2 separate regions of the Homo sapiens genome follow, and region 2 is linked to region 1. Evidence: promoter capture Hi-C in human tissues and cell types (Jung and others, 2019). All regions are on one chromosome and are shown on one strand. Each heading gives the region's core, a stretch centred on a gene start or on the middle of the fragment in contact. The rest is flanking DNA. Distances are from core to core; before and after follow the strand shown. Region 1 holds the start of MYO3B (myosin IIIB). Region 2 overlaps UBR3 (ubiquitin protein ligase E3 component n-recognin 3).

Region 1 (7,852 bases), core at 1-2,500:
ATGTGCAAATACTGTAGGAAATATAGGAAGATAGAACACATTATCCCCATTCTTAAGATTCTTATGACAGTAAATGGAAACACAAAGGCCATTATTGACTAGCGGGAGTAAGATCGCTGTCCTTTAAATCACCTTCTTCATATTTGCATTCTCTGTGTGCTGTTTCTTGGCTCTGGGTTTCTCTCCTGCCTCATCTACACTAATCCTTTTCACTTCTTCATTCAAAACTGTACCTAGATTTATCTGCTCCAGGAAGCATTCCCACTCAAGTCTTGGTCCTGGGTTGAACTGACTCCTCCTCAGAATTGATGGATATAGCTTATCCAGTGTTATTGCACAGTCTTCAACTATTTCACATGGGCCTATGTGTCATGTTAGCTGGCCAGAAAAGAAGCTTTCTGGGGACCCTACCCTCCTGTTTCTCACTTCCCCTCTCTCCCTTTTTTTTTTTTTTTTTTTTTTTTGAGATGGAGTCTTACTTTGTTGCCCAGCCTGGAGTGCAGTGGCAGAATCTCTACTCACTGCAACCTCCGTTTCCCAGGTTCAAACAATTCTCCTGCCTCAGCATCCCTGGTAGCTGGGATTACAGGCGCACACCACCATACCCTGCTAATTTTTGTATTTTTAGTAGAGATGGGGTTTCCCCATGTTGGCCAGGCTGGTCTCGAACTCCTGACCTCAGGTGATCCACGAGCCTTGGCCTCCCAAAGTACTGGGATTACAGGCGTGATCCACCATGCCCAGCACCACCCCCCCACCCCCTGCCTCCTCTTAACCTACTGTTCTGTATATAGCCCAGGGCATGCTACTGAATGAATAGTCACTGTTGAATAGTCACTGTTTCATTGCTTGGTAATTCAGATCAGAAACTCATGGTGTTTCCCCTGGGTTTATCTGCAGTTCAGAAAAGTGACCCTGACTACATGCTTTGATTATGCCCTTTGCTCACAAAAAGATGATTAGTTTTGATTGTGCAGCATTTGGAATGAAGGAATTTAATCTGGAATGAAGGAACTTTAAAAGGTTGGGGGAATATCACATTGGAACTGTTAAATGACATGCAAACAGGATCTGTGAGAATGGTTTTGATTCTGCTCTGTGTCCTGGTAGGAGACACTAAATAGATCAGGCTCACTACCAATTAGCATCATCTTAATCTTGCCTAATAGTGAAGCAAAGTCACCAAGGATTTGGTGGATTTATCAGCTCCTCCCACAATAGTCATCTGAGGCTAACACCTCTTGGAACCTAGATCGAAAGTCCTTTGGTAATGATGTGTCATACATTCTAGTCATCAAAGACACCATTTTCTGGGCCTGAAGTGTTCTGCTGGTTTTTGGAGGAATGAGAATCCAATCTCTCATAAGCCGGATTCAGAAAATAGGTCATCGATGTGAGTTGCAGTTATTTTCCTTCCAGCTTTCTTCTGTGCTTGCTTTAGATTGTTTTTCTGCAAAGGGCAGATGCAGCTGCCCTGGCTGGTGGGCAGTGGAGGGGGATGACAGCCACTCTGGCTTTGGGCCTCTGTCTGACATCACCCAGATTCCTGGGTCCTCTCAGTTAGCATTTGCCTTTTGTCTGGGTGGTTAAATTTCTCTTGAAGGAGTAGGATAAACACCCTCTTGAGTATTGCTTTTTACACAGACACACACCACACACACACACACACACACACACACATACACACAGCATAGTTCATAGTCACTTGATTTGCCACCTGCAGTTTATAATAGAATGGACCTGTGGGATTATAAACCACTTTATTTCTGCACAGAATTTCTCAGCTTGAGGCCAAATTGAAGGGCATTAGTCATCAGTAATTTGCAGATGTTTTTAATGTTTTTCACCCAAGAGAGGTTTCAGGCAGCTAAAGCTAAGATAAATTTCCTCATGCTTTGGTGGGGAAATGAAAAATCTGATCATTTAGTTAATCATTTGTAAGAGCTGTGGGTATGTATTGTTCCTTAGTGACTGCAATATCATGACAGATTTGTTAATTTGGTAACATGACAATGTAAACAATAGTAGATAAATTCCATTATGCCATGATTCTTTTCTTCCTCTCAGTAATTTTGTATATTCAAGGTTTAAAATCCATAGAACATTAGAGATGGAACTTAGAGATCAACCTAGAGATCATTGGATTCCTCTACCAAGCTCTGTCAAATGCCAGTCCTGAGTGTCTCCCCTGGAGCATCAGGATAAATAGCTAATGCATGGGGGGCTTAATAGGTGCAGCCAACCCACCATAGCACATGTTTATCTGTGTAACAAACCTGCACGTCCTGCACATGTAACCTGGAACTTAAAATAAAATAAAATTTAAAGAAAGGAAAAGAGTACATAATCAGTGGAACCATAAAGGTCAGTTCTAGTGGGAAAATTAGGAAAGGCCTCCTAGAAGAGAAGACATTTGAGCTATACTTGAACAGGCCCTATCTAGCAGCATCCAGATAGGTGGTTTGTGAAGAAGCCAGTTCCTACTCTTACGTCTTTACCATGGTTATGGTTTGAATGTCCCCTCCAAAGATCATGTTGAAATTTAATTGCCATTGTGAGAAGAAATGGGACCTTTAAGAGGTGACTAGGTCATGAGGGCTCTGCCCTTATGAATGGATTAATGCTGTTATTGTGGGAGACGGCTCCTAGTAAAAGGATAGGTTCAGTCTCCTTTTTCTCTCTCTTGAGCTCTCACTCTCTTGCCCTGTCTCACTATGTGAGACCTTCCACCATGTTATGATGCAGCAAGAAGGCCCTCACCAGATGTGGCCCCTTGATCTTGGACTTCCCAGCCTCCAGAACCATGAGCCAAATAAACTTCTATTGTTTATAAATGATGCAGTCTGTGGTATTCTGTTACAGCAGCAGAAAATGGACTAACACAACTATTATGCACTTGCTTATGTATTGGTTTGGAATTATTCTCTAATTTACTCACGCTTGTATGGTATGTGTTTCCTTATTCTGTGTATCTCTGGGTGTTATATTTAATATTTGTACAGATTTCCTCTGACATTTCACAGTTCAGGTTTCCGATTTCTTCTTTCTAAAATCTATTCTCTAGATTTGAAAGCATTCTATGATTTGTGATTCATATATACCATACTATAACATCTAGAAAAAATATTCTGAATAGCATACTGAGCAATGGAAATCTTCATCATGAATTTTCTAATGAGTATAAAATGTTGCTGGGCAAGTTTCTATTTAAATCATGCTCGCTAGGCTTGACTAACTGCAGACATTCACAGGGTGCATGCTGCAGAGTGCTTTACTTTCAACAAGGTAAGGCTGTACCTCCGTTAGGGACTAATTCAGGGTATTCAACAAGGGATCAGACTAGACCAATTTGGGGTTGTTAAGGAACTAAAACTAGCTCACGAGAAACTCAAATCAGCTCATGAAAAGAGGGGCTGCTTGGAAGAATGCAGTAGGAAATTTCATGGGTTACAAGGACAGACAGCAAAGCTTAGCAGGCCTCAGAGGGCCAAGATGTAGAATTCACAGTGAACCCACTCACTAATCCTCTTTGTCTCACTCTCTCAAGCATGGTCCTTTCAGTTTCTTATTTCTCTGTTTTCTTTTTCTTCTCAGGATGAGCCTCTGTTTCATATGGTTTCTGCTATCCTCTGACTTCAGCACACATTTGGGTCATAATAGTCTCCTCTGTAGAGATCTCTTATATGTTTTTTTAAAAAATATTTATTTTAAAAAGTAGAATAACATATGCACTAGCAAAAAACATGACTAAAAATGTGTAATAATTTTAAAAAGCATATAAATTTCTCTCTTTTCCAAACTCTCTGATTTTTACCACCTCTCCCTAAAGTTTAAGAGTTTCCTGTGTAGCCTTCTGGAAAAATGTATATAAGGATATACACATACATAGAGACATACACACAAATATACACATAAAATGACTAGAAATGCAAATATTCTTTGTATTTACACAAAAATTGTCCTCTCTATACACTATTCAACACTTTTAAAACAAATCTTAATTGTATATTTGGCATTCTTTCCATATTAATTGGCAGAAAATTTACCTTTTTTCTTTTTGGTGGTTACCTGTGGCTACATTGTATTTAATTTTATGTAACTATTATGATTTATTAGATAATCTCTCCATGATGATGGGCCTCTAGGTTGTATCTGGTTTTCTACTGAAAATAATACTATAGTGAACAATCTTGTATGTCTATCTACTTCAAGTTTAATAGAGTTTTAGCTCTTACATCTGTTTAATGATTAAAGTTAATTTTTATATGTGGTGTAAGGATAAAGATTCTTTTTTTCTTTTTGCATATTGCTCTACAATTGTTTTAGCACTGTTGAAAAGTTTTCCTTTCTAGTATGTAGAAATATAATTGAATTTAAAATATTGACCTTGTTTGTATCCTGTAATTCTGATAAACTCACTAATTAGTTCTAGTAATGTTTTTATAAATTCCATCAGTTTTTTAAATAGATAATCATGTAATCTTCAAATTAAGCCCATTTTACTTCTTCCCTTCTAATCTGGATTTTTAAATTTTCTTTTTCTTGACTTATTATTCTGGCTTCACCACAGTATTCAATATAAATGATGAGAGCAGACATCCTTGGCTTCTGATCTTAAGGTGAAAGCATTCGGTTTTTCACCATTAAGTGTGGTGTTAACTTCAGGTTTTTCCTAGATTCCTGTATCAGATGAAGAAGTTCCTTTCACTTTCTAGTCTGTTGAGAGATTTTTGTTGTTGTTTTTAAATTTTGAATAAATGTTGAATTTTTTGTGAATGCTTTTTCTGCATCGATCGAGATGATGGTTTTTCTTTTATGTTCTGTTAATATAAATCTAAGTGTGCTTTTTTTGATTATATATGTAAAGTAAATGCCTACCAGTAGAATTACAGAGACAAAGGGAATGGGCATTTGGTAGATTTTGACTAATAATTCCTCACAAAGATTGTTTACGCTTTCGCTCATGTTGTCTCAGAGTGCTTATTTCTCTTAACACTATTATCAAACTTCTAAAAATCTTGACAGTGTGATAGGAGACAAATGGTATCTCATTAGTTTGATTTGCCGTTTAAAATTTACTAGTGAGATTTAGCATCTTTTATACATTTAAATTTTTTGAGTCTTTTTCTTTTTTATTGTATATACTCTTGATAGAAAATTAGCTCCTGATACAAACCTTCTTTTCTATTTATTTTTTGGAAAAATGTTAGTACTTACAACAATTCTTTTGGTTGTAGAGACCTTTTTACTTGTATGCAATTATGTTTATCAATTTTTTTCTTAGGGCTTGTGAGTTTTCTATTCTACTTGAAAATATTTCTTGCCTACACCAAGACTATAATGTATTTAGCTATATTTTTTTAAAAAATTTTGAGCCACCATACTCTATTTTGGAGAAAGGAATGAGGTAGCAATCTGGCTTAACTTTTTTTCTGAACAGCCAGCAAGTTAAGCCAGCATAATTTATTGAACAGTATTATTTAGTCCATCTTTTGCCTATTGATTTGTAATGTGATTTTTATCATAAACCCTATTTCTTTGTGTATTTGAGTCTACTTTTGGTTTCTAGTCTAACGATCTGACTACTTATTTCTACCCCTGTGGCATAATGTTTTAATTACTCTAGCAGTATAACATGTTTTAGTGTCTGGTCAAATTATGTTCACTAATTATTCTTTTTTAAAATTTTCATGTTATGTGTTTTTCTTTTTCTGTTTCTTTTTTTTTTTTTTTGAGACTGAGTTTCACTCCATTGCCCAAGGTGGAGTGCAGTGGCGTGATCTCAGCTGTCTGCAACCTACGCCTCCCAGGTTTATGTTATTCTCCTGCCTCAGCCTCCTGAGTAGCTGGGATTACAGGCACCTGCACCACACCCGGCTAAGTTTTCTGTTTTTAGTAGAGACGAGGTTTCACCATGTTGGCCTGGCTGGTCAAACTCCTGACCTCAAGTGATCTGTCTGCCTTGGCCTCCCAAAGTGCTGGGATTACAGGTGTGAGCCACTGTGACCAGCCCTCATGTGTTTAATTTTCTAATGAAGTTTAATATCATTTTGTCAAATTCTTAAAAAAAAACAAAGCGGCTGGGCGCTGTGGCTCATGCCTGTAATCTAGGACTTTGGGAGGCCAAGGCGGGTGGATTGCCTGAGCTCAGGAGTTCAAGACCAGCCTGGGCAACACTGTGAAACCCCGTCTCTACTAAAATACAAAAAAATTAGCTGGGCGTGGTGGCATGCACCTGTAATCCCAGTTACTTGGGAGGCTCAGGCAAGAAAATTGCTTGAACCTGGGAGGCAGAGGTTGCAGTGAGCTGAGATCACACCATTGCACTCCAGCCTGGGCCACAGAGCAAGACTCTGTCTCAAAAAAAAACAATTATTTACTTTCAGACTAAATTTAGGAAGAATTGACATCTTCACAGTAAGGTTTTCTATCCAAGCATAAGGTATATGGTTTTGCATTTTTTTGGTCTCTTTTCATTTAATCCATTGATTTTAAGATTTTACTTTTATACATTCTGCTCTGTTCTCGTTAGGTTTAGCTTTGGGCATTTTACTCTCTTTAATTCCTATTAAAATGCTATTTTCTTTCTGGCTGATTACTTTTAACATATAGAAAAATATATTTTGAAATTGCTTGATTTCTAGATGCTAATTTTATACTCAGCTCCTCAATGAATCAACTTAATTTTTTTCATTGTTAAACTTTGATTTTCCAGGAATAAATCATTCCACTATTTATTTTATATTCACCATCTTCCCAGTGTTTATTTCTATGTTTTTTTGTCTAATCACAGTGGCTAATACTTCAAAAACAATGCAAAATTTTATAGTGTTTGTGAGAGATACTTGTCTTTTTTCTTGATTTTTATTAGCAATGGTTGTAGAAATCCATTATTAACTAAGATGTTGACTTTTGGTTTGAGAGATATGTTTCTGTGCTGTTTAAATGCTAGAAAGGAATTAACCCATTTGAATTTTTTAATGTTCTAAAAATTAGATATTAAAACTTACCAGATTCATTTTGGATTTCCATTTTTAATGGTGTTTCATACTTTGATATATTAATGGGAAAATCATAGTAATATATTCCCTAATGTTGCATTATCTTTGCTAAATTCTAATAGCTGATTTTTTTTCTGTGGTTTTATGTTTGTTTATTTTTAATTTTTAGTTTTTGTGGGTACATAATAGATGTATATATTTCTGGGGTACATGAGATTTTGATACAGGCATATAATGCATAAGAATCACATCAGGTTAAATGGGGTATCCATCACCTCAAGTATTTATCATTTCTTTGTATTACAATCTAATTATACTTTTAGTTATTTTTAAATTTACAATAAATTAGTGTTGATTGTAGTCATCCCTTTGTGCTATCAAATACTAGATCATATTCATTCTATTTTTTTGTACCCATTAACCATCCCTACTCCCCATCACCACTACCCTTCCCAGCCTCTGGTAACTATCCTTCTACTCTGTCTCCATGAGTTCAATTGTTTTAATATTTAGCTTTCACAAGTAAGTGAGAACATGCAAAGTTTGTCTTTTTGTGCCTGGCTTATTTCACCTAACATAATTACCTCCAGTTTCATCCATGTTGTTGCAAATGACAGGATCTCATTCTTTTTATGGCTGAATAATATTCCATTGTATATATAAACCTGATTTTATTTTTCCATTTATCTGCTGATGAACACTTAGGTTGCTTGCAAATCTTGGCTATTGTGAATAGTGCTACAATAAACATGGGAGTGCAGATAGTTCTTCAATATACTGATAACATTTCCTTTGGGGTGTACCTAGCAGTGGGATTGCTGAATCATATGGTAGTTTTATTTTTAGTTTTT
Region 2 (7,852 bases), core at 2,734-5,233, 200 kb before region 1:
GAGTTCAGAATAATTCCCTTCTTATTTTTCTGGAAGAGTTTGAGAAGAATTGGTACTGGTTCTTTAACATTTTGGCAGAATTTAGCAGTGAAGTCATGTGGTCCTGGGCTTTTCTTTGATGGGAGACTTTTTATTACTGATTCAATCTCATTACTCAATATTTATCTGTTCAGATTTTTAATTTCTTCTTGGTTCAATTTTGGTAGGTTGTATGTGTCCAGGAATTTATCCATTTCTTTCAGGTTTTCCAATTGGTTGGCATATAGTTGTTCATAATAGTCTCTAATGACCCTTTGTATTTCCGTGGCATCGTTTGTAATGTTTCTTATTCATTTCTGATTTTATTTTGAGTCTTTTCTCATTTTTCCTTGGTTAGTATAGCTAATGGTTTGTCAATTTTATCTTTTCACAAAACCAGCCTTTCGTTTCATTGATCTTTTGCATTTTTTAACTCTCAATTTTATTTATTTCAGCTCTGATCTTTATTATTTCCTTCCTCTTGCTAATTTTAAGTTTGGTTTATTTTTGCTTTTCTGGTTCCTTGAGATACATTATTAGGTTGTTTATTTGAAATCTTTCTACTTTTTCAATGTAGGTGTTTATTGCTATAAACTTCCTTTTAATTCTACTTTTGCTGTATCCTATAGGTTTTGGTATGTTGTGTTTCTATTTTCATTTGTTTCAAGAAACTTTTAAATTTCTTTCTTAAGGCTGGGCATGGTGGCTCTTGCCTGTGATCCCAGCACTTTGGGAGTCCAAGCGGGTGGATTGCTTTAGTCCAGGAGTTCAGAACCAGCCTGCACAACATGGCAAAACCCCAAAATACAAAAATTAGCCTGGTGTGGTGGTGCATGCCTGTAGTACAGCTACTTGAGAGGCTGAGGTGGGAGGATTGCTTGATCCCGGGAGGTGGAGGTTGCAGTAAGCAGAGATCATGCCACTGTACTCCAGCCTGGATGACAGAGTGAGACCCTGTCTCAAAAAAACAACAACAAAAATTCCCTCTTAATTTCTTCCTTGATCCATTGGTTGTTCAGGAACATGTTATTTAATTTCCATGTATTTGTACAGTTTCAAAAGTTCCTCGTTATTAATTTCCAGTTATATTCCATTGTGGTCAGAAAATAAACTTGATCTGATTTAAATTCCATTAAGTTTGTTGTGACTTGTTTTTTGGCCTAACGTGATCTATCCTGGAAAATGTTCCATGTGCTAATGAAAAGAATGTGTATTCTGCTGCTTTTGTTGAAATGTTCTGTAAAAGTCTGTTAGGTCTATTTGGCTTAAAGTGCAGTTTAAATTCAGTGTTTCTTTGTTGATTTTCTGTTTAGATGATTTGTCTAGTACTGAGAGTGGGCTGTTGCCAACGATTATTGTATTGGAGTCTGTCTCTTCCTTGATATCTAATATTTGCTTTGTGTATTTGGGTGCTCTGGCATTGAGTGCATATGTATTTAGAATTGTTGTATCCTCTTGTCTGGGTGTGGTACCTTGTGTCTGTAGTCTCAGCTACCCAGGAGGCTGAGATGGGAGGATTACATGAGGCTAGGAGTTCAAGACTGCAGTATGCTATGATTGTATCTGGGCAAGAGAGCAGCAAGACTCTGTCTCTAAAAAAACAAACAGGAATTCAGAATTCCTTTTTGGATCTGCAATTATCTGGATCTGCATATATCTGGATCTGCAATTAAAAACATATATATATATATATATATATTCTCTTTTTGAACTGATCTCTTTATCATTATATAATGACCATTTTTTTCTCTTTTTACAGTTTTGGACTTAAAGCCTGTTTTATCTGCATGTTTTTCTTTTTCATTTGCTTGAAATTTTTTTTTTAATTCCTTTACTTTCAGTTTATATGTGTTTTTACTGGCAAAGTGAATTTCTTGTAGGCAGCATATAGTTGGGCCACTTTTTTTTTTTAAATCCATACAGGCAGTGTGTATGCTTTAAGTGGAGAATTTAATTGGTTTACATTCAAGTTTATTATTGATAGATGAGGGCTTTTTGTTGTTGTTAATTGTTTTCTGGTTGTGTATCCTTTGTTCCTTTCTTCCTCTCTTATTGTTTATCATTGTGTTTTAGTGATTTTCTGTAGTGATAATGTTTGATTTTTTTTTTTATTTCTACTATGTGTATCTGGTCTGCCAGTGAGTTTTATACTTTTTCATTTTTTCATGATGGTGATTATTGCATTTTTGTTTCCACATGCAGGACTCTCCTGAGCATTTCTTGTAAGTTTGGTCTAGTGGTGATGAATTCCCTCAGTTTCTCCTTGTCTAGGAGAGACTTTATTTCTCCATTATTTCTGTAGGATAGCTTTGCTGGGTGTAGTATTTTTGGTAGGCAATTCTTTTCTTTCAAAATTTCAGAACTTTGAAAATATCTATTTTTTACTGGCCTATAAGGTTTTTGCTGAGAAATCTGTTCTTAGTCTAATGGGGATTCCCTTATATGTAACTTGATGCTTTTCTCTTGCTGTTTTTAGAATTGTCTCTGTCTTTCACTTTTTACAATTTGACTTTGTTTGCCTTGGGGAGGACCTTTTTGAGTCTAATCTATTTGAGAACTTTTGAGCTTCTTGGATCTAGATGTCCATATTTCTTCCCAGGCTTGGGAATTTTTCAGGTGTTACTGGTTTTCTATGCCATTTTTATCTCTTCTTAATTGTTCACTTAATGGTGTTCCATAAATCTTATAGGCTTTTTTCACTCTTGTATTCTTTTCCCCCTCAAGTAATTTTAAATGACTTATCTTCACGTTCAGAGATTCCTTTTTCTACTTGATCAAGTCTGCTGTTGAAGCTTTCTGTGGTATTTTTTTGTTTGATTTATTCAGCTGTTTGTTTGGTTCAACTCTTTTGGATTTTTGTTTGGTTCTTTTTCATGATATCTGTCTCTTTGTTGAATTTCTTATGCATAAGAAATTTTCCTGATTCTATTGAATTATATATCTGTATTTTCTTGTATCTAATTGAGTTTCCTTAAAATTCGTCTTTTGAATTTTTTTTCCTGGCAATTTGTTGATTTCCTTTTCATTTGGGTCTGTTACTAGAGAGATACGAAGTTCAAAATCTATATTAGGTTTTTCCAGAGGGACAGAAATGGTAGGATATGTATATATGAAAGGGAGTTTACTGGGGAGAATTGGCTTACATAATTACAAAGGTGACATCCCATGATCGGCCATCTGCAAGCCGGGGGATGAGAAAAGCTAGTACCATGGTTCATTCCAAGTCTAAAACCCTCAAAACCAGAGAAGCTGACAGTACAGTACCCGGTCTGAGACTGAAGGCCTGCAAACCCCCAAGAGTCTTTTGTTACAGGTCCCAAAGCCCAAAGGCCAAAGAACCTGTGTCAAATGTCCAAGGGCAGGAGGAGAAAAGGTGTTCTGCTCTGGGAGGGAGAGAGAGAGAGGAAACCAAGCAAGCTGAATATCACCCTTCTGCCTGCTTTGTTCTAGCTTTACCCACAGTCTGTTGGATAGTGCTCGCCCACAATGATGGCAGATGTTCCTCTTTCATTCACTGACTCACATGTCATTCTCCTCTGGAAAACCCTCACAGACACACCCAGAAACAATGTTCCACCAGCCATCTAGGCATCCCTCAATGCAGTCAAATTGACACCTCGTATTAGCCATCAGTTCATTTTGTCGTGTCATATTTCCTTGCTTTTTCATGTTTCTTATGTCACTGCATTGATATCTGTACATCTTGTGGAATTGTTGTGTCTTCTGAACTTCCTAGATTGGCTTTTGTAGAGAATGATTCACCTGCAGTTGAATCTTAGTGTGCTGGCTGGGAAAGATGTGGTGACTCTGTTTCTGGGTGGGTATAGTGGTATAACTTCCATGCAGCTTCTCTGGTGGTGTTCAACATCAGCAATAACTGTGGCCTAGGCTATAGAAGTTTGTGGTAGCAGCAGTGGTGACATAGGCTGTTAATGTCCTTGGTGGCAAGGCCTTTTGGGCTCCGCCTATTCTCATTTTCTCCACAGTGGGGAGACTTACCCAAGGGGATCCCTCTTGGTGTCATGTCTTTCATGGACTGTGAGTACCAGTAGCAGCGCTGGGTTCCAGGTGCAGGTGCTTGGAGGGGCTGTGGGGCCTGGGTTTCATGAACCTATTATGGCACTTGGGTCTTGGCGTGACATTTTGCTCTCTGTTGTAGGGGTAGATTTAGGTTGCCACAGAGTCAGGATCTGTGACTCTGAGGCACCTTCTAGCAGCTTGGATTCAGGGAGTTGGGTTGTTTACCCCGGGGGAACAGGTCACATCTTGCCTCTGGGGAAGAAAGGGTGCTCCTGAGGTTTGAGCCCAGGGTGCAGGGTATAGCCACTATTTGGGAGTCTGAGCCAGTAGGGCTTAGTAGCAGCCATGTCCCTGGGGATGTAGTACTGTGTAGTGGTTACCTTAGACCCTGTGATGGTGGGGCTTGGCAGTATCCCAGACTCTGTGATCCCAGGTGCAGTGTCAGCAAGTATGTCAGAATGGCCAAATACAGATGTCATTTGGGCCCTTGAGGGTTATGGAGCAGCACAGCAGGGAGTCCACTCCCCATGGAGAAGGGTGTCTCAGCAGCTCAGACTCTAGGGGCTAGTCTAGCTCCAGGGAAGCAAGTTACTAGAGTTGTTTGACCTGTATGGAGGAATGTCTCAGCTCAGCCACTGCTCTGTTTTCCTGGGATGAGGGGTGTTATATCGGCCTAGCCCTAGGCTCTGTAGCTCAGCCAGGGCATCAGTTCCCCAGGAGGTATTGTACTGTTAAGAGAATGAAATGATAAGCCATAGACTGAGAGGAAATATTTGCAAAACACACATCTGATAAAGGACTGGTATTCAAAAGATATAAATAATTCAACAATAAGAAAACAAATAACCTAGTTTTTAAAATGAGCAGAAGATCTGAACAGACACCTTACAAAGAAGATGCAAGAATGGTAAATAAGTATGTCAAAAGATGCTCAGCATCATTATCATTAGGGAAATGCAGAGTAAAACAACAGTGAGATACCACTACATGGCTATGGCGAAATCCTGAAATCTGACACTACCAATTTTTTGTGAGAATACAGAGCAGTGGGAACTCTAATTCATTGATGGTTGCAATTCAAAATGGTACGGCTGCTTTGGAAGAGTCTGGCATTTTCCTGTAAAGCTAAGCTTAATCTTACCATATGATCCATCACTTGTGCTCTTAGATATTTATTTAACTGATTAAAAAACTTATTTCCACACAAAAAATCTTCATACTTATTTTTATAGCAACTTTATTTATAATTGCTCAGAATTGGAAGCAGCTAAGATGTCCTTCCATAGATGAATGGATAAAGAAACTGTGGCACATACGTATAATGAAATACCGTCCAGCAATAAAAAGGAATGAACTATTAAGCCACATGAAGACATGGATGAATCTTAAATACATACCGCTTAGTGAAAGTAGCCAATCTGAAAATATTACATACTGTGTGTTTCCAGTTATATGACATTCTGGAAAATGCAAAACTAGAGACAGTAAATAGATCACTGGTTGTCAGGGTTGAGGCACAGGTGAATAAATGAAACATGGGAGTTTTTTTAGAGCATTGAAATTATTCTGTGTGACACAGTAAAGTTCGATATGTAACACTGTTAAAACCCTTAGAACTTTATAGCAGAAAGAGTGAATCTTTAAAGTATGTATATTTTAAAAAATCATTTAGGAGTTGGGGTGATCCCAGGATGGAATGCAGACTATGACAGGAGAATATAACTGTATTACAGATGTATGAACTTGTGATGTATGAAACAACCTCACTGAAAAGAGTAGGGGGAAAGGTGCTGGCTACCTAACTTTGGAAATAAATAGCAACAATAAGACTAAAGGCAAAAGAAACTGTGTATAACCAGTGAATAAAAGTTTCCCCATGGCATCATGAGTTAACAATTCTGAAACCACTATACGTATATACTGAGGTTGAACAATTAAGTAAATGAATGGCAGATGATGAGAGCTGGATTTCTCGCCGTTGGAGTAAGAAGTTACAGATAAGGGGAGAAGGCTAGAATGATTCATGTGATAATAATGGATTAGAGTTGGAGACATTAGTATGAACTCATGTTTAGACAGCTCTAGATAAAGATGGAATTATATATGTATAAATACAGGCATATGCATATGCATGAGTTAGTGTACAGACACGTAGTCCCTTCTTTTGTCAGCTGAAAGGGCCTAGAAGCAAGGACATCCCAGTAGAAACTGGAATGGGGAGTTATATTCCACCTCCTTGAGGGTAAAGGCACTATATAAAATATTTGGCATTCTTCTGCTAAGGAAACTTATCTGTGTTCCCTTGTTTATTTGTTCGTTCATTTATATTAGTATGTACTCATGGATATTTCCCAGGTACAAGCACACCCATTGCCCAGATCTTGGTTTCTTTTTTTTTTTAATTATACTTTAAGTTTTAGGGTACATGTGCACAAAGTGCAGGTTAGTTACATACGAATACATGTGCCATGCTGGTGTGCTGCACCCATTAACTCATCATTTAGCATTAGGTATATCTCCTAATGCTATCCCTCCCCCCTCCCCCCTCCCCCCGATCTTGGTTTCTAATACAGTCCCCTCCTCCCTTGCTGAAAAGAGGAACTAGGGTCCTTGGAGGCATGGTTGATTTTTAAGAACTGGGGCAGGGAACATGCAGGGTGGATCTGGTGTATCTCATAGGGCCAGAAAGTAGAGGGGTACTCAAAAACAAACAACCCCCACCCCCTCTAGTGATGATATGGGCTGGGGCTATGTCAAGGGGCACAGGAGTCAACTGAGAGTTTCCAGTGGCCAAAGCTGGAACAATTTGAGCAACAAAGTAAAGTATAATGCATTATAACCCTGAGTATAAAAGAAATATCAATGAGTATATACTAGTATAAATGATTGAATAAATAAGGTAGCATAGAGAAGTTTCCTATGCAGAAGAATACCTAGTATTTTATGTAGAGCCTTTACCCTCAAGGAGGTGGAATATAACTCCCCACTCCTTAAGTGTGAGCTGCATGTAATGGCTTCTTGGTGTGGAAAGGGGGAAAAGAGTTATTTTACAGTAGAGAAACTTGGGAAACATCTTAACCAGGTGATCAAGGTCAGCATCAGCAGTGGTAATTCATGTTAATATTATGTACCCTTGATATGATGTGATGAGAATGATGCTTCTGTGATCTTCCTCTCTAAAATCGATAACCTTAGACTAATCATGAGAAAAACATCAGACAAATCATAATTGAGGACTGTTATGCAAATACCTGGATACTACTCCTCAAAACTGTCAAGTTCATCAAAGCAAGGAAACAAGGAAAGTCTGAGAAACTGTCACAGTTTCTTCTTAGAAGAACATAAGGAGACATAACAACTAAATGTAATGTGGTATCCTGGGATGGAAAAAGGACATTGGATAAAAATGAAGGAAGCCTGAAAAAAGTTGGACTTTAGTTAATTTGTCAATATTGTATCAATAAAAATTAATATATATTCATTAATTCTAACAGTCATACCATGCTAATGTAAAGTTTAAGATGAAACTGTGGGGGGGAGGGTACATGTAGTATCTGCAAATCTAAAACTATTATAAAATGGGAAGATTATTTTTTAAAAAAGAAAGCGAATACTCTATACACCAACTAAAAAAAGAGGAAAGCAAGAATGATAATAAAAATGATGACTAATTGAAGATAATACTGTAAATCCTTATCAAAATTAATGATAGTGTGCAGTGGGAGTTTTGCAGTATTGGCACTTATCTGAGGGAAGTCAGACTTCTTAGCAGAAATCAGGGAACTCTGGTAGTGTACTTAGTTTATGAATAGTA

Evidence for each region. The method cuts DNA at HindIII sites, captures the fragments that hold promoters and counts their contacts. A contact is called where the count stands out against the background at its distance.
Region 2: a contact is called between a fragment that was not itself captured here and the fragment with the promoter of MYO3B in region 1, in 2 of the 25 tissues and cell types used here (H1 embryonic stem cells and mesendoderm cells).

The regions. Positions count from the first base shown.
Region 1 is chr2:170,176,897-170,184,748 of GRCh38, forward strand. It overlaps MYO3B (myosin IIIB), which reads left to right and starts at 1,251. Exons shown (of 35, transcript NM_138995.5): 1 at 1,251-1,393. The coding sequence starts at 1,392. RefSeq lists an enhancer at 3,433-3,662. The HindIII fragment of the contact is 10,734 bases long and covers 1-7,852 here.
Region 2 is chr2:169,974,191-169,982,042 of GRCh38, forward strand. All of the region lies in intron 24 of UBR3 (ubiquitin protein ligase E3 component n-recognin 3), which reads left to right. Among named protein-coding and RNA genes, the nearest start is that of UBR3, 150 kb to the left of the region's middle. The HindIII fragment of the contact is 5,554 bases long and covers 1,207-6,760 here.